7 separate regions of the Homo sapiens genome follow, and all the other regions are linked to region 5. The links are contacts of gene promoters, found by promoter capture Hi-C in blood cells and fetal thymus (Javierre and others, 2016). All regions are on one chromosome and are shown on one strand. The core of a region is centred on a gene start or on the middle of the fragment in contact, and the rest is flanking DNA. Distances in the headings are between cores, read along the strand shown.

Region 1 (3,253 bases), core at 646-3,145, 3.3 Mb after region 5:
ATCTTGTTTTTGAAAGCAAATGTAAAAACAAAACTAGTCTTTTATAAAGGTCCTGCATGCCTTTTTTTTTATTTTCCTCTATATTAATAGTATTGACATTCTAAGATACCCATATGCCTATGTTCAATGGATTTGTAAAAATTAAGAAGAAAGGTTATAAAGAAAAAAATTTGTACTGAGTTTTTGATGAGCATTAGCTATAGATGAAAATGAATTATATACTTAGGCTCTGTAGAGGACATTATAATGTAAGTTTAATGCATTAAATAAATTGAAAAATGTATTAATGAAGGATGGGGTCAGTGCTTTATTCATCTTTCTATCCCTAGTATTTAATATAGTAGGTTTTGAGTGGAATAGGAGTATTGAATTTACATGAATGATTTGAGAGAGACCATATCACAGGTGGTGATATTTAGAAAGGAGGTAGTGCCAGGAAAGGGGATGATGAGAAATAATTGAATTAGAAGAATTGATTAAAATAAGGTTGAGATTCTACCAACTTAATGTTTTTGAGCCAGGACTTATGGAGAGTAGTGTCAATGTCAGGTTAAATTCTCACTTTTTATTTCTTTTTAAAAATTTCATTTTTATTATTTCATTGTAATTTTAATTTATTGTCATAGACAAATATGAATTGAGAACTGAGATAATATTACACTAGAGTTTATATGAACATTTATGAAGAATACATTAAATATAGCTCTGATCTTCAACAAGCCAGACAAGGCAGATCAGACAGGCAGTCAGAGACTATACAAATACATACGTATTTTATACAGATCACATATTAGCATATGTATATGAAAACAGGGAAGTTTGAATATGTAAAAATATGAACCATGGGCTGTGGTAGCTCTGTGGTAGCACTTCTGTATTGCAAAAGTGAAGTTCAGAAATGTTGGTTAAGAAATCAGGAACCTCCACCTCCTGGGTTCAAGTGATTCTCCTACCTCAGCCTCCCAAGTAGCTGAGATTACAGGTGCCCGCCACCACACCCAGCTAATTTTTTGTATTTTTAGTAGAGGTGGGGTTTCACCATGTTGGCCAGGCTGGTCTCGAACTCCTGACCTCAGGTGATCCACCCACCTTGGCCTCCCAAAGTGCTGGGATTACAGGCCTGAGCCACTGTGCCCGGCAGCAATAGAATTTTTTAAAAATCTCTTAACTGTGGTCTCACTTGATAAAAATTCATTTTGTCTAGCTTAGGGTATTAGAGTGATGAAAAGACTGTACTTTATTAATTAACAACCTCTATGGTCTGATAGGAATGTTTATATAACATTTAAAGGGATGTTTATTAAAGAGTTGAAAAAAATATTGTAATGAGGTATATTTTTTTTTCCTAAATGTAATATTGTTTTTCTTTTGCAGAGTGTTTTGCTACTTTGGGAACAGTTTGAAGATATCAGTCATCATAGCTACCATTCACACCACAACTTAGCAGGGATCCTCCTAATTGTTCTAAGAATTTGCCTAGCATTGTCATTAGGCTGTGGACTCTATCAGATCATCACAGTGGAGAGAAGTACACTCAAAAGGGAGTTCTACATCACATTTGCCAAAGTATGGGTTTGGAAAGAAAATCGTTTATTCTGATTATCCACTTGGTTCTGGTTTCTTTGGGAAGTTAATAAACAACTACATGCTAACTTTTATTAAACTTCTGGGTTGGGCACAGTGGCTCACTCCTATAATCCCAGTGCTTTGGAAGGCCAAGACAGACAGATTGCTTGAGCCCCCAAGTTGGAAACCAGCCTGGGCAACATAGACCCCATCTCTACAAAAAATTAAAATTAGCCACGCTTTGTGGCGAGCACCTGTTGTCTCAGCTACTCAAGAGGCTGAGATGGGAGGATTGCTTGAGCCTGTGCATTGAAGGCTTCAGTGAGCCAAGATTGGGCCACTGCACTCCAGCCTGGGTGACAGGGCGAGACCTTCTTTTTTTCAAAAAAAAAAAAAAAAAACTTCTGTTATGTGACAGACACTACCATAAGTTCTTTATGTGGTTCAACTCATTTAACCTTAGCAACTTATGTGATGTAGGTATTATCCCTATTTTACAAGACCTGTGAGACAGTATTTTCCATATATTCTTTGCGGGTCAGTTTTGCCTGGTTCATAGTTTCATCAATAGGGATTTTACATTTTTTTCTGTAATACCAGAATTTTAAATTTTTAAAATCAAATATGGTTTGGATTTCTCAACAGTTATTAATTGACTATAAACTGTTATTCTCAGAGTTATGCAGTGTTTTATAACAGTTAGGAGCTATCCTTCAGCATAAGCAGCTGGAGCCAGGAGGCTGAGTCCATGTGTTTCAGCCAGCCTCACCCCATCCACATGAGATCGTGTCACTTTATTCCTCCTTTCTTGACCTTCTTGTGCTAGTGAGATCTAAAAGCAAATTCAGTTTTTTTTCTATACAGGAGAAGGGTTAGAGCAGTAACATTATAGAACCTTCCCTCCCTAGAAGGTTTCATTTTTCTGTCAGATTGAGAGAATCCATACCCCTTCATTTTAGCCCTGCGAACCAGCATTCTGATCAGACTGATTCTGTTCAGGCAGCCCACCTTGTCCAGAGTTATTGGCCGTTATTCTGAGGCAGCTATGGAAGGAGAGCCAGATTCCTGCTTTATTCCTAGTGTTGAGCATTGCAAAGCTGCTGCTGCTGCAGCCCTAAGAACCAACTTCAGGCTTCTGAGCGCAAGACAAGAAGATGTCATCCTGCCTTTGAGTTTTTCAGAGGGACAGTAGTGCTTATTGTTTGATAAGTTAATATGTATTTGAGGTGTTTAGGCATTAAGTTTTCTTATTTTGCTTTTTTCGTTGTTGTTTTTGAGACGGTGTCTCGCTCTATCGCCCAGGCTGGAGTGCAGTGGCGTGATCTCGGCTCACTGCAAGCTCCGCCTTCCGGGTTCATGCCATTCTCCTGCCTCAGCCTCCCGAGTAACTCGCGCCCACGCCCGGCTAAGTTTTTGTATTTTTAGTAGAGACGGGGTTTCACCGTGTTAGCCAGGATGCTCTCGACCTCCTGACCTTGTGATATGCCCGCCTTGGCCTCCCAAAGTGCTGGGATTACAGGCGTGAGCCACCGCACCCAGCCTTTCTTTTTTAAGATGGAGTTTCGCTCTTGTCCAGGCTGTAGTGCAGTGGTGCGATTTCGGCTCACTGCAACTTCCATCTCCTGGGGTCAAGCGATTCTCCTGTTTCAGTCTCTGGCATGTGCTACCACACCTGGCTAATTTCTGC
Region 2 (3,078 bases), core at 579-3,078, 3.8 Mb after region 5:
TTTACAAAGAGCTTCTAAATATTTTCAATTGAGAGGATTAAGTGTGTATCAGGGAGAAGGGATAGTTTACCAGAGCATGATAGGGATAGTTTACCAGAGCATGATAAACCAAAATGAGGAGGTTTCCTCTTCTCATACAAGGACAATCAGTACTTTGAATTATCTATCTTTTAAAAAAGCAAAAGTCAGTTGGTACAAATAAAGAGAGGAATGGTTTTAAATTCAGAGTATAGAACCTCAACCGTAAAAACTGCCAACTCTAAGAACTTTTGTCCAAACCCAGACATCAACACTAGTAGACAAAAATTGATACTGTTAAGTAAAGTAAAAACAGCTACAATTTGGGAGGAATCCTAAAGGGGTTTAAGCAGCACATTTATAATCTTCGTCTGAATTTCTCGTGGATAGATTGGAGAGACTTGACCATGCATGTCTGGTGGGTAGGCATTTAGCAAATTTATTCAAGTCCCAAATCCTTTCGGAAGTGGCTATTCTTCTGCACGACACACTTTGGTAAATGCTCATCCATATCATAGAAAAATGATCAAGAATGAATCAAAGGCAATGCAGCCTCCTCAACTCTAGAAAAGGATTCTTCAAAATGAATCTGGCGTCCCTGAAGGGTGGAACACCCCTGGGATGATGGAAGAGGGAAGCACGCATGGAGTCAACCAACCCAAAACCTAAAGACACTGAGCTGGCGCAGCCCACAGTTACTCATCAACCCCTCTCCACATCTCAAGCGGGCATGTGCAATTAGTAAAATGCCCAAAAGACAGAAAGCACGGTGGGGGAATAAGAGATCAAGATAACCTTCAAAATGAAAAATTTACCTGGAAACGACTTAATGGTCACATATCCGAATAATCACAAATATTTCTATAAATGGTCAAATGCTAAAATATGTGTGTATGAAAACTGACCCCTTATGTGTCCCATACCACATCATAGGATGGCCGCAGACCAAAACGATCATGATCCCTTTTAAGCACAAAGAAATTAGCCCCAGATTTCATAGGAATTATATAACAACCACCCAGAATAGGTTTCTTTACTCCTTCATACATGCCTAACAACTATTTCTTTTTTAAAAAAGTAATACATTACCTAAACACTTGGAAAAATAACGTTAAACAAAATGTGACATATTTACACGATTTTAAGTGCAAACTTGTCACAAATTCACAAAGTCTTGCTTGACTTCGCCTTACTATATAAGGTGTTCCTCCTCTAAAATGTAACGGGTCTACTCTGTATTCCTGATTAAGTAACATCTGTCTCTTAAGACAACTGAAACCTACTTATTTCTGTGATTACAAAAGGATGAAAAAACACAACCGGTCAACCTGTCCCTTTCCCCTCCTTTGCAGTGTGTCTCTTTCCTAACAACTACTTCTGATTTTACTTCTTTTTATTCAGTTTTGGCTGCAAAAGAGTGAGCCACATGCAAAACCCAGCTTCCCATCAAGGCCCTGGTTCTTAGAGCAGGTTTCTGCCCCGCCGGGAGGCCTGGGACCCAGCACTGGTGGGCTGCAGCCAGAAGGGGGCAGCACTCGACAGCTCAGAAGGCTAGGCCCATTCCCTCTGGGACCTCCCCAGGCTCCAAGACACACTAAGGCAGGCAGACTGAGCCCCCACTCTGTGGGCCCTGGGGCCAGAGCAGTGAAGAAAGCAGAAGCAAATCCCTTCCCCATGGAGAGTCACAGGCTCTCACGGGGCCACAGACTTTACAGCTTCAGCCCAAGCCCCTGTTTTATAAATGAGACCTAGGCTGGTGAGAAGACCTTCCCTCCAATACCTGCTGGTCTATCCAGCAGGACTGCTGCTGGGGTCTCTGTCTTTCTCCGAAATCCCAGCCCAGCACACCCTTCTTTCCTCTGCAGCTTCTCTCCAGAAGCCCGTGTCTGTGCCCCTCCTCCCACCCCAGCACCCTCTCAGCCGCAGGACCTCCCTAATAATCCCTGCCAGTGTGAGGCAAAATCACCCCAAGACAAGGCCAGAAAACAGGATGGAGTGTTCTGTTTACAATGCAGCTGTCAATGTTATCTAGGAACCGAAAAACAACAAAACAGACCATTTTACAATATCGCAGGGTTTGGTACAAAAGAAATTTGCAAATGGGACCTACACAGTGTGTGGTAGCTACCTCAGTGCCTTCCTCTAGCTCAACAGCATTCACCTAGAGTGCTTTTTTCTAGTGGGATGTTCACAGAGCTGTCTGTCAATGCTTGAAGTGTATTAGAGCTGGGCACGGTGGCTCATGCCTGCAATCCCAGCACTTTGGGAGGCCAAGGCGGGCAGATCACTTGAGGCCAGAAATTCAAGACCAGCCTGGCCAACATGGGAGAAACCCTGTCTCTACTAAAAATACAAAAATTAGCCAGGCATGGTGGGGCGTGCCTGTAATCCTAGCTACTCACGAGGTTGAGGCAGGAGAATCACTTGACCCTGGGAGACAGAGGTTACAGTGAGCCGAAATCACAGCACTGCACTCCAGCCTAGGCAAAAGAGCAAGACTCTGTCTCCAAAACAAATAAATAAATAAATAAAGTGTATGAGGGTGGGAATGCCAGCAGATAAAGAGAAACTGTCACCTTGTGTGAGTTTCCATGTGCACAAGATGCGATGATGTTCTAAATATCTGGGAACACATTATTGTTTTGTTGGTAGAGATGGCAGAAATTACATCAGAATTAGGCAAACATGAAACAGGGAGTGCAATACTTAGAGCCAAGGGCATGTAGAGAAAGGAAGAGTCTGGAGTCTAGAGAGTTTTGACATTTGTCCCACAGGGGAGGACGGAGGCAGTGGGGCTGGGCAGGAGTGCTGCTCAACCGCCTATTGGCTCTTGGCTCCAGCAAACTACGCTACAACGCAAGGTCAGCCACAAAGAGCACCCGGAGAGGGGAGGAGCTGGTCACCACCAGCACTGCCCACCTGTTTTAAGCAGCCTGAGCTGTTCCAGTACCCTCAGAAGAGACCCTCGCCCTCTGCTCCCAAATCTTGCTGGCAGCTGGGCCACTGGGCTCTGCTCCTGGCAGACATCATCTCCAGCCCCGGGGTGCAGCTTCCTGCCGT
Region 3 (3,303 bases), core at 318-2,817, 3.8 Mb after region 5:
GAAAAAAAAAAAAGAAAAAGAAAAGAAAAGCATTAATCTGTAACAAGGGCCAAGAACATAACTCATGCTCAATAAGTGTTAGCCCTGTCCTCCAGTCTTCCTCATATGCAGCCACTGCTTTTAGAAATTCAGGACTGAGAAGTCATAAGCAAGTATTTTAGAGACAGTGCCTGTGATCAGAACCACAACTCCAGACTGCAGATATGTAAACTATCACTTCATCCTTTACGTCCAAAAGGATTATTTTTTCCCCTTTCACATATCTTAGTTTGGCTTATTTCAAAACTAAGTTGTTCAATCTAGTATACCTCTTCAGGTTTAGTACTTATACCCCTCTTCAGGTTTAGTACTAAAGCTTTTAATGAAACTGTTTCCCTTTATATCAAGATTGGCTGCCATTAGTCCTTTTATATACATATCTAAAGGGAGATGTTAATGATCAAATCTGATGGGTGCTATGTCCAGTATCAGCCAACTCAAAGGTTTCAAAATGTTTTCTTCCTAACATCTTCCATTGTAGATGAGATAATAGAAATAATTACACTAACATTGTAATTGATGGCTTGAAATTTTTTCTAAATTATGCTTCTTAGGCAAATCTCAAAAAATACTTTCCAAATTATTAAGAGTAAAAATCTTCCAGTCATGCCATAAAACAAACAAATAATAAGTGATTGATGTAGCAATGAGCTATTTAACTCTAATCCTACATAAAGACTACATTAAGAGGCCAGCCACGGGGGCTCACGCCTATAATTCCAGCACTTTGGAAGGCTGAGGCAGACAGATCACTTGAGGTCGGGAGTTCAAGCAACACGGTGAAATCCCATCTCCACTAAAAATACAAAAATTAGCTGGATGTGGTCACCCATGCCTGTAATCCCAGCTACTCGGCTGGCTGAGGCACAAGAATTGCTGGAACCCAGGAGGCCTGCAGTGATCCAAGATCATGCCACTGCACTCCAGCCTGGGCAACAGAGCGAGACTCTGCCTCAAAAAGGAAAAAAAAAAAAAAAAGACAACATTAAGAGCTGACACATACAATGTTGGAGGTGACACAAGTGAGAAAGATATAGTCAGTTGGTGCAGTGGCTCACACCTATAATCCCAGCACTTTGGGAGGTTAAGGCAGGAGGATCTTTTGAACCCAGGAGTTAAAGGCCAGTCTGGGCAACATGGAGAGATCCCATCTCTACAAAAAAACACGAAACTTAGCCAGGAGTGGTGGTGTGCACTTGTAGTCCCAGCTACTCGGGAGGATCACTTGAGCCCAGGAGGTAGAAGTTGCAGTGGGCCGTGATCATGCCATTGCACTTCAGCCTGGGTGACAGGGCAAAACTCTGTCAAAAAAGGAAGGAAGGGATGGAGGGAGGGAGAGAGGGACAGATACAGTCACTACCTTCATTCATTCAGTTAAGATACATTTGCTGAGCACTGACGAAGTACCAGGGACTACTCTAAGTGATGAGGATACATCCACTGGTCAAGCAAACAGACAACACCCTGAGTCGTGTAGGGACACTCACTACACAAACACAGAAAACACACTATTGGATAGTAAAGTAAACCATGAAGAGACAGCCAGGCAAAGGTTGTACTTTAGAGGGAGTGGCCAGGAAAGTCCTCTCTGCAAGGAGGTGATGTATGAGCCATGAGACTATCTGGGGGAAGCATTCCTGGCAGATACAGCAGGTGCAATGGTCCCGGGGCACAAATGCGCTGTGCAAAGGCACCTTCATGCATTCGCAGTCTAGTGCGGGGGCTGGAGGGAAGAACACATAGGTGGATCAAGAGCAGCTCATTGAGGGCTGTGGGAAGACAGAGAAAGCGCCATGCCCTCCGAGGAGCAGAAGAGAAAGGCAGGAGGTAGGATCTGTGTCTTTCATTTTTCTCTTTTGCCCAGGCAAACTATCCCTGGTTGTCCAACGGCAGGAAAAATACCCTTACAGACAGGCAGACGTGAGAAATTCACACCTCCTTCCAGGCACCCCAAAGAAGTGTGCATGGCTGGAGGACTGGTCTTGCATGGCAAGGGTTGGAAAGGTGAATGGGGCAGACTGCAAAGGGCAATTTGCCATTCGAGGACTTAGAACTGTAGCTTAAAAGTAGGGGAGTCCTAGAGGACCTGAAAGAGGGAAGGTGAACTAGTGCTGTGCCTGAATGTTTGTGGCCCTCCCCAAATTCCTACTGAACCCTAATCACCAATGTAATGGTATTAGGAGGTGAGGCCTATTTCATGAGAATCTGCCAACACAAATGGTATTAGTAGAAGGGGCCAGCCCAGGGAAGCTGCCGTACCCCTTCCACAGTGACAAGACAGCTGTCTATGAACCAGAGCGTGAGCCCTCTCCAGGCACCAAAACTGCTGGCGCCTTGATCTTGAATCTTGTCCTCCAGAACTGTAGAAACAATTTTCTATTGTTTATATGGAGTACCTAGTTTATGCTATTTTGAATCAGCAGCCTGAATGGACTAAGACAAATAGGTAGGCAACAGTGTGGGAGATCTGATTAGGAGACTCAAAGAGGCAGGGGTCTGAGAATTTGAGGCTTTCTAGAACACAACCACATCTATAGCAGGCAACAAATTGGATTAGCATCCTTTAATCTAAGTGACCCTCACTTTTTGTATGTGATAAAATCCACTTAGTGTTTGCAACATATAGTTGTAAAACACAACTCTTAACAACTCTCGATATATATTCATGATTGAAGTAAAACTGTTAATGGCAAATAGAAGCGTAATTCATTCACTTTTAATACAAAACACTTCACATTTCTAAGCTTCAACACAACCGCCATCTTTCATAGCATATTGTTCAATCCAATTTTCTAACTCGTTGAGAACATTCTCCAGTTGCTGCTGAGTGATTTCCTAAATTGCATTCGTGCTCCCTGCCCTAAGTTTCCCCAAAGAATGTGATTCTGATTAGCAAACAACAATTTTAACAAGCTTGCTTCTAACAAGCATATATCCAAAGTCATTAATCCTTAAAGGTGCAAGAGGACTTTATAAATACCTCCTGTGTTCAAATGAAAATCTGAGGGAGCTTGTGCGATACGCACACTGATACTCAGCAATGAAAATACCTTCCTCCTTCCCCGCGGCGACTCTAAACAGCGTCCCACCGGGAATTGTTGTTTGAGTGATAAAGAACTGGTGGGGCCTCGCGCAAGACTCAAGCAAGCCACAGAGGCCCTTCTCGGCGAAATGGAAAATTCATCAAGGCACAATGAGGAGGGAGCAGGAAACGAGGCTCTGATCAGACTGCTGCGGCAATGCCAAGTGCCAGCTTATCCTGCA
Region 4 (3,093 bases), core at 331-2,830, 4.3 Mb after region 5:
GAAAAACCCATTTATAGGGGAGTAATTCAAGCAGACTGCATGAATTTGCATAAGTAAAGAGGAGCCAAGTGCTGATAGCCAAGACAATGGGAAAAAGGGCTCCAAGGCATCTCAGCGACCTTTAAGGCAGCTCCTTCTATCATAGGCCCAGAGACCTAGGAGGGAAGAACAGTTTCCTGGGCCAGGGCCCTGCCAGCCTCAGGACACTGCTGCCTGCATCCTAGTTACTCCAGCTCCAGCCATGGCTGAAAGGGGCCCAGATATAGCTCAGGCCTTCAGACGGTGCCAGCCCAAACCCTTGGAAGATTCCACATGCTGTTAAGCCTGCAGGTGCTGAAAGCCAAGAATTGAGGCTTGGGAGCCTCAGCCTAGATTTCAGATATATGGAAAAGCCTGGATGTTCAGGCAGAAGGTTGCTGCAGGGGCAGAGCCCTCATGGAAAAATCTCTACTAGGGCAGTGCAGAGGGGAAATGTGGGGTTGGAGCCCCCAACAGAGTCCCCACTGGGGCACTGCCTAGTGGAGCTGTGAGAAAGACCACCATCTTTCAGACCCCAGAATGGTAGATCCGCTGACAGCTTGCACCATGCACCTGGAAAAGCTGCAGCCACTCATTGCCAGCCCTTGACAGCAGCCGCGTGGGCTGAGCCCTGCAAAGTCACAGGAGTGGCACTGCCCAAGGCCTTGGGAGCTCACCCCTTGCTGCAATATGCCCTGGATGTGAGACATGGAGTCAAAGGAGATTATTTTGGAGCTTTAAGATTTAATAACTGCCCTGCTGGGTTTTAGCACGTGCATGGGGCCCGTAGCCTTTTTCTTTTGGCCGGTTTTACCCTTTTGGAATGGGACTATTTACCCAATGCCTATAATCCCATTGTATCTTGGAAGTAATTAACTTGTTTTTGATTTTATAGGCTTATAGGTGGAAGGGACTTGGCTTGTCCCAGATGAGACTTTGGACTTTTGAGTTAATGCTGGAATGAGTTAAGACTTTGGGGGCTGTTGAGAAGGGATGATTGTATTTTGTAATGTGAGAACATGATATTTTGGAGGAGCTGGGGCGGAATGATATGGTTTGGATCTGTGCCCCACCCAAATCTTATGTTGAATTGTAATCCCTAATGTTGGAGTTGGGGCTTGGTGGTAGGTTTTTTGTTTTTTTTTAGAAATCTCCATATTGTTTTCCATAGTGGTTGAACTAATTTACATTGCTGCCACCCATATATGTGTTACAATTTCTTCACCTCCATGCTAACATCTATTTTTTTTTAAGCTTTTTAGTAATAGCCACTCAGACTTGTGTAAGATGATTGATATTTCATTGTGGTTTTAATTTGCATTTCTCTGATGATTAGTGATGAACATTTTTTCATGTTTGTTGGCTGCTTGTATGTCTTCTTTTGAGAAATGTCTCTTAATGTCCTTTGCCCACTTTTTTTTTTTTTGAGACAGAGTCTTGCTCTGTCGCCCAGGCTGGAATGCAGTGGCACGATCTTGGCTCACTGCAAGCTCCGCCTCCCAGGTTCACGCCATTCTCCTGCCTCAGCCTCCTAAGCAGCTGGGACTACAGGTGCCTGCCACCATGCCCGGCTAATTTTTTGTATTTTTAGTAGAGACAGGGTTTCACTGTGCTAGCCAGAATGGTCTTGATCTCCCGACCTTGTGAGCCACCCGCCTTGGCCTCCCAAAGTGCTGGGATTACAGGCGTGAGCCAGTGCGCCTGGCCCTTTGCCCACTTTTTAATGGGGTTCTTTGTTTTCTTCTTGTTGAGTTGTTTGAGTGTCTTGTAGATTCTGGATATTAGTCCTTTGTCGGAGGCATAATTTGCAAATGTTTTCTCTCATTCTGTAGTTTGTCTCTTTGCCCTGTTGATTATCTTTTGATGTGCAGAAGCTTTTTAGTTAAGTCCCATTTGTTTATTTTTGGTTTTGTTGCATTTGTGTTTGGGGTCTTCGTCATAAGTTGTTTGCCTAGGCCAATGTCCAAAATGTTTAATCTATCTTGAGGTAGTTTTTGTATATGCTGGGAGACAGAGATCCAGTTTCTTCTGCATATGGCTAGCCAATTTTCCCAGCACCATTTATTGAATTAGGGTGTCCTTTCCCTGTTGTTTATATTTGTCAGCTTTGTCAAAGATCAATCTGTTGGATGTAAGTATGTGGTTTTATTTCTGGGGTTCTCTATTGTAGTCCATTGATCTGTGTGCGTATTTTTGTACCAGTACCATGCCATTTTAGTTACTATAGCCTTGTAGTATAATTTGAAGTCAAGTAATGTGATGCCTCTGGATTTGTTCTTTTTGGTTAGGATTACTTTGGCTATTCATGCCCTTTTTTGGTGCTGTATGGACTTTAGAATTGTTTTTCCTAGTTCTCTGAAAAATGACATTGGTGATTTGATAGGAATTGTGTTGAATCTACAGATTACTATGGGCAGTATGGTTATTTTAATGATAGTCTCCAAATCCATGAGCCTGGGATGTTTTTGTGTTTATTTATGACATATATGATTTGTTTCATAAGTGTTTTGTAGTTCTCATGGAGATCTTTCACCTCCTTGGTCAGTGTTTTCCTAGGTATTTTATTTTTTTGCATATGGCTTTTGTAAATGGGATTGAATTCTTGATTTGGTTTTTGGCTTGAATATTGTTGGTGTATAGAAATGCTACAGATTTTTATACCATGGTTTTGTATACTGAGACTTTACTCAAGTTGTTTATCGGTCTTGGAGTCCTTTAGTAGAATCTTTAGGGTTTTCTAGGTAAAAAAATCATATTTGTGAAGAGACATAATTTGACCTCCTCTTGTCCCTTTTGGATATCTTTTATTTCTTTTTCTTGCCTGATAACTTTAGCCAGGACTTCCAGTACTATGTTGAATTGGAATAGTAAGAGTGAACATCATTGTCCTGTTCCAATTCTTAGGGTGAATGCTTTCAGCTTTTCCCCATTCAGTATATTGGCTGTGGGTTTGTCATATGTGGCCTTTATTATGTTGAGGTATGTTTCCTGTATGCCTAGTTAATCTAGCTAGCAGTTTATCAATTTTGCTCATGGATTTGGAGAATATAATATCGTTAAAAAGACAACACTACC
Region 5 (3,229 bases), core at 117-2,616:
TGAAACAGAAGATAAAGTTTTAAAGAAAAAGGCATTGACATATTAGTCAATGCCGACCAAAAGTAACGTAAAATTAGACTTGTAATAAAATTAGCAGTGTTTTCCTCTTTGAAACGTTCATAAATGACTATATTACAGAAATATTAGATATTGTAAAATTTCAGATTTGGCCTTTTATTTTGATTTACAAAGAAAGGAATATCTAGAAACTAGACTCAATAAAAAAAAGAGTAGCAAAACTTTAATCCACTATTTTTTATGTCATCACTAGTTTGACAATTGGATTTAAGCAAAGCATGATAAAATAAGTCAAAGACAGTAAATGACAATACTGTCAAGGTTTGAATGTCAAAAATTTTAACATTGGGGCATTAAAGACATCCTTTGGTAATGTGTGTTTTACAGTTGACTTGTACAATCACGAACCAGTGATATGTGCTTTGCAGTAGCTACTTACTAGATTTAAACCAATTTATAATTGCTGTATTTCTCGTAAATGTTATGAATCCTCACTTTTAACAATTATGTTTCTGAGAATTCCGGAATTTCCTGAACCACAATGTGAAGAAGGAGGTGCTCCTGATTGGGCTTCTTTTCTCAGCTTTGTGGTTGTTTATGAGGTTCTTTCCGAGCTATGCTATTTCTACTGGAGAACCCAGAGTTCTTACTAAATGCAGCTGGGCATGAGAGGGGAGGCTCAGGTACTGCAGCTGTGAAACCTCTGCTCGGGCATGCGTTTTGGTTTACACGCGGCCAGGTTAAGGAAACACATTGCCACGAAGTGTGCATTCACAAGAGTGTCGGGTGTAATGTATTTATTTCTGGGTCTCAAACGATCTTTGCAGCGAGTAATTCTGTTTCGATGTTAAAGTCACTGGATTTTACTTCTCTGGTTCCGGTTGGCCTGGAGCAGGCCCCTAATTACCTCGGAAACCCACCAAGGGCCGGTAAAGTAATAAACTGTGATCGCACAGCGTACACGTCGAGTCCCAGGGAGAGCAGGGCTCCCAGGAAGCCCCGGGAAGCGTGCGCTTCCAGGAGGGTGTGCGGCGCGCGGGGGTCTGCACGCGCGCAGAGCTTGTTAACGGAGGGCGTGCCGGAGGCGTGGCGCGAGGTGTTCGGGCGAGGCGCTCCGCGAGGCTGGCGGCGGTGGGCGGGCCACGGGGGAGCGCGGCCCGGGGAAGGCTGCGCGGCGCCGCCAGCGGCTCCCGGCTCCCGCTCTCCCGGCCGCCAAGAACGAGCCGCCGTGGGCGGGGCCTGCGGTGATTGGCGGGCGGGCGGGGAGGTCGGAAGTACTTTGTTTTTTATGCTAATGAGGGAGTGGGGCTTGTCCGTATTTACGTTGAGGCGGGAGCCGCCGCCCTTCATTCACCCACATGGTCCTTCGAGGTGCCGCCGCCGCCGCCCGACCTGCGCCTTCGCGCCACTTCGCGCCCTCGGGCGAGGCCGAGGGGGTGGGGACGACTACCGCAGCGCCGCCGGGGCTCGCGCTCCTCCGCGAAGCTCTCCTCGCGGGGCGGGCCGGCCGGCCGCACCCCCGGCCTGGGGCCTCCGGTCGTAGTAAAGCGCAGGCGGGCGGGGAGGCGGGAGCAGGAGCCCGCGGCCGGCCAGCCGAAGATGGTGGCGGCTACTCCTCCTGGTGAGTCTGCCCGCCCCTCCGGCGACGGAGGGAAACCTGTTGTGTGCGGCCCGGGTCTGGCGGGCGGGGCGGAGCGGCCCGGGGCGGACTGGCCCGGGGCAGCGTGGCGGCGGCGGCGTGGCCGGGGCGGGTCTCGGCCGTTGGCCGCCCCGGCGTGTGGCAGCCGCATCTGGCTGCCCCCTCGCTCGCCCGCGGGCCGGCGGAGGGGGGCAGGGCCGGGGCGGGAGGGTGGGAGGGGGCGGCGTGCGCGTGGCGGCCGCGCCCGGGACCCGCGCAGACCCTGCCTGGGCCGACCCGAAGGCGGGTGGGCGGACGGCGAACACAATGGCCCCTCGGGGAGAGGACGTGCGAGGCCCGTGCCTTCTCCGGGGCCCGGGGCGCGCGCGGGGCGTGGGGTCTCTGGGTAGGAAAGTTTCTCCCGAGGGCGAGAGTTAAAGCGCCTCCAGAACAAAGCGGCGGCGGCGGCGGCACATGGGGCAGGCCGCGGGCCGGGAGGGGGCGCGCCCACGAGGTACCTGCGCGCCAGCGGGCGGCGTGGCGTGGGCGGGAGCCCGCGGTTCCCCAAACTTTGTACGCGCGAGGGTGGGCGGAGGGGCGCCGAGATCGGCGCGGCCTGGGCGCCACCCCCGCTCCGCGTGGGCTTTGTTAGCCCGCGTGGGCAGCCTCGGGGCGGGGCCCGCAACTTCCCCGCCGTGGCCCTCGGAGGAGGCCGCAGTCGGCCTCAGCCGCGGCGTGGAGCCGCCTGCGCCCGGCCGCTTGCTGGGAGTGTGGCGCGGGAGGGCCAGCCCGGCTCGGCGGGAGCGGCGTCCCCGCCGCCATGTTCCTGCGGGGCGGGCTGCACGGGGGTGAGGGCGGGGGACATGGCGGCGACTGCGCGCCGCCGCCGATTGTTCCCGGCTTAGGCCTCGGGCCGCGTGCGACGGGCACCGCGGCCGCGGAGCCCCCGCCCCTCTGGGCCGGGCTCGGGGGGGCTGGGGGACACAAAGGAGGGGCGGCGCGCCCGCGTCCCCGCCGCACTCGGGCCTCGGCGCCGCCGGTCGCCGCGCGGCTGCCGCCGGGAAACGGGTTGGGGGGGTTGCCGCGTCCGGCGGGGCCTGACTCTGACCCGCCGCCCCCTGGCGGCTACGCGGAGAATCGCAGGGCCGCGCTCCCCCTTGTGCGACATGTGCTGCCGGCCCGGGCTCCATGAGCGTGGCGGGCACTTTGCAGTCTCGGGTGTTCCTGCCCGGTCTTCTGTTCCTAAACTGCAGCAAAGGGAAAAGGAACTGAAAAAGGCAGGCTCGTCGTTGCAATATCACCAAAAGAGAAAATTAACGGCATGCCATCAGGACCACAGCAGTTGGAGAAACAACTCTTTATCCCGGCTTGCAGCCACGAGGTCTTGATTGGGGGAGGGGTGGTGAAGAATAGTCTGTGGGCTGCTTTTTTTTTTTCCTTTTACTGGAGCTGTACAGTGGAGTCGGTGATTGCTGCTGATCATAATCAAGTATTTTAGGAGCTTATTTAGACATGTATCTGATAGCTAAGGATTTTTCAACTTTATTCTCTTACGTATTTTTCAACTGTAAATTATTGGGCTTTTAAATCCTG
Region 6 (3,351 bases), core at 24-2,523, 4.0 Mb after region 5:
CCCAGCTGGAGGTTCAGGTGGGAGGATTGCTTAAGCCCAGGAGTTGGAGGCTACAGTAGGCTATGATCACACCACTGCCCTCCAGCCTGGGCTAAAGAGTGAGACTCTGTCTCAAAAAAAAAAAAAGTCAAGCACATAAGAATGGCAAAATATTGATAATTTTTGAAGCCAAATGATGTGTCATAGGGGTTTATTTTCTTACATTTCATGCATGTTTGAGAATGGTTTTCTTTTTGGAGATGGGCTCTCAGTATGTTGCCCAGGCTGGACTCAAGCTGCTGGGCCCAAGGGATCCTCCTGCCTCAACCCCTCCAAGTACCTGGGATTGTAGGCACTCGCCAGCATACCAGCTCATGTTTCAGAATTTCTGTCACAAAAAGGAACACAATATTTTAAGTTGACTACTGTGGGAAAGCTATGATCATTCAATAACCTACCTTTCTGATAGCTCTTTCTCAGATAATATAAGCTATAAACCAAAATAGTCAGCCTTCACCTGATTTACAGTGCCCTTTGAAACTTCCTAAGTTTTCTAGCCCAGTAAATGCTGAGCTACCAGTTCTACTTCCAAGCTAGAGAACCTGTTTACTAAAGTTAGAAGTCTAGTGACTTCCTCTGTCAGACTGTCCCAGAATGCTCTCCCTACCCCCAACAACTGTGTAAGAACCGTCATTAGCCATCTCCAAATTGCCAAAGTGCTCAGTCCCTTCGGCTCCTGCAGAGGCTTATTTTTTTCTTAATTAAGATCTTTTGGAACTTCTTAACATTCTTTTCTGAACATTAACAATGTGGTGTTTGGAAGAGATACTATAGAGCAGTGTCTGACTGCAGAGAGGAGTGGATATGGAACCAGGGGGCCAGGGCTTTATATCTTTTCACTTGTTACCTAACCTTTCTGACCCTTATTTTTCTCAGGTCTAAAATGGGGTCGGGGCGGGCGCAGGGGCTCATGCCTGTTATCCCAGCACTTTGGGAGGCGGAGGCAGACAGATCACCTGAGGTCAGGAGTTAGAAACCAGCCTCGCCAACATGGCAAAACCCCCTCTCTACTAAAAATACAAAAATGATCTGGGCGTGGTGGCATGTGCCTGTAATCCCAGCTACCTGCGAGACTGAGGCAGGAGAATTGCTTGAACCAGGGAGTCAGAGGTTGCAGTGAGCCGAGATCATGCCACTGCACTCCAGCCTGGCGACAGAGCGAGATTCTGTCTCAAAAAAAAAAAAAAAAAGATAAAAATTAGCCAGGCTTGGTGGCATGCGCCTGTAGTCCCACCTACTTGAGACGCTAAGGCAGGAGAATTACTTGAACCTGGGCTGCAGAGGTTGCAGTGAGCCATGAGCCAAGAGCTCGCTGCTGCACTCCAGCCTAGGTGACAGAGCTAGACTCCATCTCAAAAAAAAACAACAACAATAAAATGGGGTCAGGCAGGGCATGGTAGCTCACACCTATAATTTCAACATTTTGGGAGCCCAAGGCAGGAGCATCACTTGAAGCCAGGAGTTCGAGAGCAGCCTGGGCAATGTGATGAGATGCCGTCTCTACAAAAAATAAAAATAAAAAATAATAATAATAATAGTAATAATAATGTTTTTTAAATTAGCCAGGCATGGTGGCACACACCTGTAGTCCTAGCTACTCGGGAGGGTAAGATGGGAGGATCACTTGAGCCTAGGAGTTTGAGGCTGCAGTGAGCTCTGATTGCACGACTGCACTCCAACCTGGGAGACAGAGTGAGAGACCCTGTCTCTAAAAACATAAAAATACATGTAAAAACAAAATAGGGATCAGAATCCCCACTCTTCCTTCTTCACAGGATTATTGTGAGTCTCACAACTTGTGAATACACTCTGAAGGCAATATACAAATTAAAGGATGGGGGTTTTTTCCCATTCATTCAATAAATCGTTAGTGAACGCCTTCTGGATACATGACAGCTAGGCCAGGGAATGAGCCTGCAAAGACGAGGAAGATGTCTTCTTTTTTGTTTGTTTGTTTGTTTGTTTGTTTGTTTTTGAAACAGGGTCTAGCTCTCACCCAGGCTGGAGTGCAGTGGTGCAATCTTGGCTCACTACAACCTCCCGGGCTCAAGCCCATCCTCCCATCTCAGCATCCCAAGTAGCTGGAACTACAGGCACGCACCACCATGCCCAGCTAACTTTTGTATTTTTTTGGTAGAGAGGGGGTTTTGCTGTGTTGCCCAGGCTGGTCTCAAACTCCTGAGCTCAAGTGATCTGCCAGCCTCAGCCTCCTAAAGTGCTGGGATTACAGGTGAGAGCCACAGCACCCAGCCTAAAGATGTCTTAAGAATAGGCATGGGCAAGGACCTCATGTCTAAAACACCAAAAGCAATGGCAACAAAAGCCAAAATTGACAAACGGGATCTAATTAAACTAAAGAGCTTCTGCACAGCAAAAGAAACCACCATCAAAGTGAACAGGCAACCTACAAAATGGGAGAAAATTTTTGCAACCTACTCATCAGACAAAGGGCTAATATCCAGAATCTACAAGGAACTCAACAAATTTACAAGAAAAAAACAAACAACCCCATTAAAAAGTGGGCGAAGGATATGAACAGACACTTCTCAAAAGAAGACATTTATGCAGCCAAAAGACACATGAAAAAATGCTCACCATCACTGGCCATCAGAGAAATGCAAATCAAAACCACAATGAGATACCATCTCACACCAGTTAGAATGGCAATCATTAAAAAGTCAGGAAACAACAGGTGCTGGAGAGGATGTGGAGAAATAGGAACACTTTTACACTGTTGGTGGGACTGTAAACTAGTTCAACCATTGTGGAAGTCAGTGTGGCAATTCCTCAGGGATCTAGAGCTAGAAATACCATTTGACCCAGCAATCTCATTACTGGGTATATACCCAAAGGATTATAAATCATGCTGCTATAAAGACACATGCACACGTATGTTTATTGCAGCACTATTCACAATAGCAAAGACTTGGAACCAACCCAAATGTCCAACAATGATAGACTGGATTAAGAAAATGTGGCACATATACACCATGGAATACTATGCAGCCATAAAAAATGATGAGTTCATGTCCTTTGTAGGGACATGGATGAAGCTGGAAACCATCATTCTCAGCAAACTATCGCAAGGACAAAAAACCAAACACTGCATGTTCTCACTCATAGGTGGGAATTGAACAATGAGAACACATGGTCACAGGAAGGGGAACATCACACACCGGGGACTGTTGTGGGTGGGGGGAGGGGGGACGGATAGCATTAGGAGATACACCTAATGTAAATGACGAGTTAATGGGTGCAGCACACCAACATGGCACATGTAGACATATGTAACAAAACCTGCACGTTGTGCAC
Region 7 (3,533 bases), core at 213-2,712, 4.3 Mb after region 5:
AGTAGTTTACACATGCCAGTTACAGTATTATAATAGTCTGTGTTTTTCTGTGTACTTACTATTACCAGTGAGTTTTGTACCTTCAGATGATTTCTTTTGCTCATCAACATCATTTTCTTTCTGATTAAAGTACCCCCTTTAGCATTTCTTGTAGGACTGGTATGGTGTTCATGAAATCCCATGGATTTTATTTTCCCAGGAAAGTCTTTATTTCTCCTCATGGTTCAAGGATAGTTTCACTGGATATATTATTCTAAGGTCATTTTTTTTCCTTTAGCACTTTAAATGTGTCATGCCACTCTCTCCTTGCCTGTAAGGTTTCCACTGAGAAATCTGCTGCCAGACATATTAAAGCTCCATTGTATGTTATTTGTTTCTTTTCCCTTGCTGTTTTTAGGATCCTTTGTTTATCCTTGACCATTGGGAGTTTGACTGTTAAATGCCTTGAGGTAGTCTTTGGGTTAAATCTGCTTGGTGATCTATAATCTTTTTATACTTGAGTATTGATATTTTTGTCTAGGTTTGGGAGGTTTTGGGAAGTTCTCTGTTTTTATCCCTTTGAACAAACTTTCTACCCGCCCCCCACCACCATCTCTTTAGGGCCAATAACTCTTAGATTTTCCCCCTTGAAACTATTATCTAGATCCTGTAGGTGTGCTTCATTCTTTTTTATTCTTTTTTTCTTTTGTCTCTTCTGAGTGTATATTTTCAAACAGCCTGTCTTCAAGCTATTATTTTCTTCTGCTTGATCAATTCTGCTATTAAGAGACTCTGATGCCTTCAGTATGTTGATTGCATTTTTCAACTCCAGAATTTCTGCTTTTCACTTATTTCAATTTCGTTGTTAAATTTATGTGATAGGATTCTAAGTTCCTTCTCTCCATTATCTTGTATTTCTTTGAGTTTCCTCCAAACAGCTATTTTGAATTCTCTGTCTGAAAGGTAACATATCTCTGTCTCTCTGGGATTCGCCCCTGGTACCTTGTTTAGTTTGTTTGCTGAGGTCATGCTTTCCTGGATGACTTGGTGCTTGTGGATGTTTGTTGGTGTCTGGGCATTGAAGAGTTAGGTATTTATTGTAGTCTTCACAGTAGGGCTTGTTTGTAGTCATCCTTCTTGGGAAGGCATTCCAGGTATTCAAATGGGCTTGGATGTTGTGATCTAAGTTTTTGGTCACTGCAGCCATATCTGCATTAGTGGGCCCCTAAATGCAGTAATATTGTAGTTCTTTCATACACATAGAGGTACTGCTTTGGTGGTCTTGGATAATACCCGAAAGAATTATCTGGATTACTGGGCAGAGACTCTTGTTCTTTTTCCTTGTTTTTGCCCAAACAGAATCAGTCTGTCTCTCTCTCTCTATCTCTCTCTGTTGAGCTACCTTATCGGGGGAACCGCCCCCAATATTTCAATGTAGGTTCTTTCTATTTTCCCTAAGTGTCGGCCAGCTGAGAAATAGAGAAAGATTACAAAGAGAGGAATTTTACAGCTTGGCTGCTGGGGGTGACATCACATATTGGTAGGACCGTGATGCCCCGCTGGGCCTCAAACCGTCAAGTTTTTTATTAAGTGTTTTAAAAGGCGAGGGGGTGTAAGAACAGGGAGTAGATCACATGCTTCAAAGGGCAAAAAGGAGAACTACTGATAAGGGTCTATGTTCAGTGGTGCATGTATTGTCTTGATAAACATCTTAAATAACAGAAAACAGGGTTCGAGAGCAGAGAACCGGTCTTACCAGGCCTGGGTCTTTCCCCATCCTAGTAAGCCTCAGGGTACTGCAGGAGACCAGGGCGTATCTCAGTCCTTACCTCAACTGCATAGGACAGACATTCCCAGAGCGGCCGTTTATAGACCTTCCCCCAGGAATGCATTCCTTTCCCAGGGTATTAATATTAATATTCTTTGCTAGGAAAAGAATTTAGTGATATCTCTCCTACTTGCACGTCCATTTATAGGCTCTCTGCAAGAAGAAAAATATGGCTCTTTTTGCCCAACCCTGCAGGCAGTCAGCCCTTACTGTTGTCTTCCCTTGTTCCCTAAAAATCGTGGTTATTCTGTTCTTTTTCAAGGTGCACTGATTTCATATTGTTCAAACACACGTTTTACAATCAATTTGTACACAATTGTCACAATGGTCCTGAGGTGATGTACATCCTCAGTTTACGAAGATAACAGGATTAAGAGATTAAAGACAGGCATAAGAAATTATAAAAGTATTATTTGGGAACTGATAAATGTCCATGAAATCTTCACAATTTATATTCCTCTGCTGCAGCTCCAGCTGGTCCCTCCATTCGGGGTCCCTGACGTCCAGCAACACTACCTGTAGCCGGGGGAGGGGTGACACAAGTACCTCCGTGGCCACCATCACTGGGACTGTGGATGGTCAGACCTGAAGCCAGCACAGCTATGGGTTATGCCAAAGGCCCACTGTAACCACTACCTGCTACTACCTATGTTAGCTGAAGTTCCTAGGGCTCTACAATTAGCAGGCAGTGAAGCCAGCTAGCTTTCTGTCTTTCTCTTCAGGATGGCGAGTTCCTCAGAGCCCCGGGTGGGTTCAGAGATGCTGTTTAGGAGTCAGCAGCAGTAACTCCAGAACCTGGAGTCAGAAACCTTAGAAATCTACCCGGTGCTCTATTCTACTGAGGGTAAGCTAGCACTGAAACCATAAGACGAAGTCCTTTCTAGTCTTCCCTCCTCTTTCACCAGGCAGAGGAGTCTCTCCCCATGTCCATCAACATCACAAGACACTGGGAGTATTGCCATGATTCTGCTGATGTTCACTTAAGACCTAAGGGCTTTGTAGTCAGCTTGTGGTCAATGCTGCCATGCCTGGAATTCACCTTTCAGGGCAGTGGGCTCCCCTCTGGCCCAGGGCCAGAAATGCCATCCAAGAGCCAACTCTGGAATCAGGGACCCGAAGAGCCCACTTGGTTCACTTCCCCACTGTAGTTGAGCTGGCACCTCAGCTATAAGACAAAGTCTCCTTTATTCTTCCCTCTCCTTTTCTTAAACAGATGGAGTCTTTCCTCATAGCCACCCATAGCTGTGAATATGCTGGGTCACACCTGCAGCCAGTATACCTCAGAGTCTCACCCAAGGCCCACAGCATGTATTACCTGGTTACCGCTGCTGATTATTCAGGACCCAAGGGCCCTTTAATCAGCAGGTGATGAATCCTGCCAGGACTGGGTACTTCCCTTTAAGATAGTGGGTTCCCCTCTGGCCCAGGGTATGTCTAGGTATGTTGTCTGGGAGCTAGGGCCTGCAATGGGGGCCTCATGACCCTGCTCAATACTCTATCCTATTGTGGCTGAGCTGGTATCCAAGTTGCAAAACAAGTCTTTACTATTCCCTCTCCTTTCCTCAAGTGGAAGGTGGGGGTGGTGTTGTCCCTTTTGGAGCTGCTAGCTGTATTGCCTGAAGTTGGGGGAGAGGTGATACAAGCACGCCGCATTGGCCACCCTGCCTAGTGTCTCACTAGGTCACATAGCCCCCAAGTCCATTGGCTCTAAGCCCAGCACAGCAAG

The links. Contacts are between HindIII fragments. The CHiCAGO score rates a contact against its expected background, and 5 or more counts as called.
Region 1: a contact is called between a fragment that was not itself captured here and the fragment with the promoter of MIR17HG in region 5, in 7 of 17 cell types (naive B cells, naive CD4 T cells, non-activated CD4 T cells and 4 more). The highest score is 10.9, in naive B cells.
Region 2: a fragment that was not itself captured here is called in contact with the fragment with the promoter of MIR17HG in region 5 in 1 of 17 cell types (naive CD8 T cells); the score reaches 6.0 in naive CD8 T cells.
Region 3: a contact is called between a fragment that was not itself captured here and the fragment with the promoter of MIR17HG in region 5, in 1 of 17 cell types (total CD4 T cells). The highest score is 7.1, in total CD4 T cells.
Region 4: a fragment that was not itself captured here is called in contact with the fragment with the promoter of MIR17HG in region 5 in 1 of 17 cell types (naive CD8 T cells); the score reaches 5.9 in naive CD8 T cells.
Region 6: a fragment that was not itself captured here is called in contact with the fragment with the promoter of MIR17HG in region 5 in 4 of 17 cell types (naive CD4 T cells, activated CD4 T cells, naive CD8 T cells and 1 more); the score reaches 8.6 in naive CD4 T cells.
Region 7: a contact is called between a fragment that was not itself captured here and the fragment with the promoter of MIR17HG in region 5, in 4 of 17 cell types (naive CD8 T cells, non-activated CD4 T cells, fetal thymus and 1 more). The highest score is 11.0, in naive CD8 T cells.

What each region holds. Positions count from the first base shown.
Region 1 is chr13:94,621,735-94,624,987 of GRCh38, forward strand. It overlaps GPR180 (G protein-coupled receptor 180), which reads left to right. Exons shown (of 9, transcript NM_180989.6): 7 at 1,375-1,566. Among named protein-coding and RNA genes, the nearest start is that of GPR180, 22 kb to the left of the region's middle. The HindIII fragment of the contact is 8,166 bases long and covers 1-3,253 here.
Region 2 is chr13:95,190,394-95,193,471 of GRCh38, forward strand. All of the region lies in intron 9 of ABCC4 (ATP binding cassette subfamily C member 4 (PEL blood group)), which reads right to left. Among named protein-coding and RNA genes, the nearest start is that of SNORD13G, 18 kb to the right of the region's middle. RefSeq lists an enhancer at 3,040-3,078. The HindIII fragment of the contact is 6,767 bases long and covers 1-3,078 here.
Region 3 is chr13:95,171,572-95,174,874 of GRCh38, forward strand. The region is part of intron 13 of ABCC4 (ATP binding cassette subfamily C member 4 (PEL blood group)); the gene reads right to left. Among named protein-coding and RNA genes, the nearest start is that of SNORD13G, 37 kb to the right of the region's middle. RefSeq lists an enhancer at 2,872-3,303. The HindIII fragment of the contact is 2,428 bases long and covers 354-2,781 here.
Region 4 is chr13:95,684,536-95,687,628 of GRCh38, forward strand. The region is part of intron 1 of DNAJC3 (DnaJ heat shock protein family (Hsp40) member C3); the gene reads left to right. Among named protein-coding and RNA genes, the nearest start is that of DNAJC3, 8.9 kb to the left of the region's middle. The HindIII fragment of the contact is 620 bases long and covers 1,271-1,890 here.
Region 5 is chr13:91,346,321-91,349,549 of GRCh38, forward strand. MIR17HG (miR-17-92a-1 cluster host gene) reads left to right here and starts at 1,367. Exons shown (of 3, transcript NR_197388.1): 1 at 1,367-1,639. RefSeq lists enhancers at 856-935, 2,405-2,952, 2,953-3,229 and silencers at 1,036-1,815, 1,866-2,855. The HindIII fragment of the contact is 6,871 bases long and covers 1-3,229 here.
Region 6 is chr13:95,304,022-95,307,372 of GRCh38, forward strand. All of the region lies in intron 2 of LOC102724149 (a long non-coding RNA gene), which reads left to right. Among named protein-coding and RNA genes, the nearest start is that of ABCC4, 4.2 kb to the left of the region's middle. The HindIII fragment of the contact is 4,555 bases long and covers 1-3,351 here.
Region 7 is chr13:95,668,283-95,671,815 of GRCh38, forward strand. No RefSeq gene overlaps it. Among named protein-coding and RNA genes, the nearest start is that of DNAJC3-DT, 6.9 kb to the right of the region's middle. The HindIII fragment of the contact is 5,545 bases long and covers 1-3,533 here.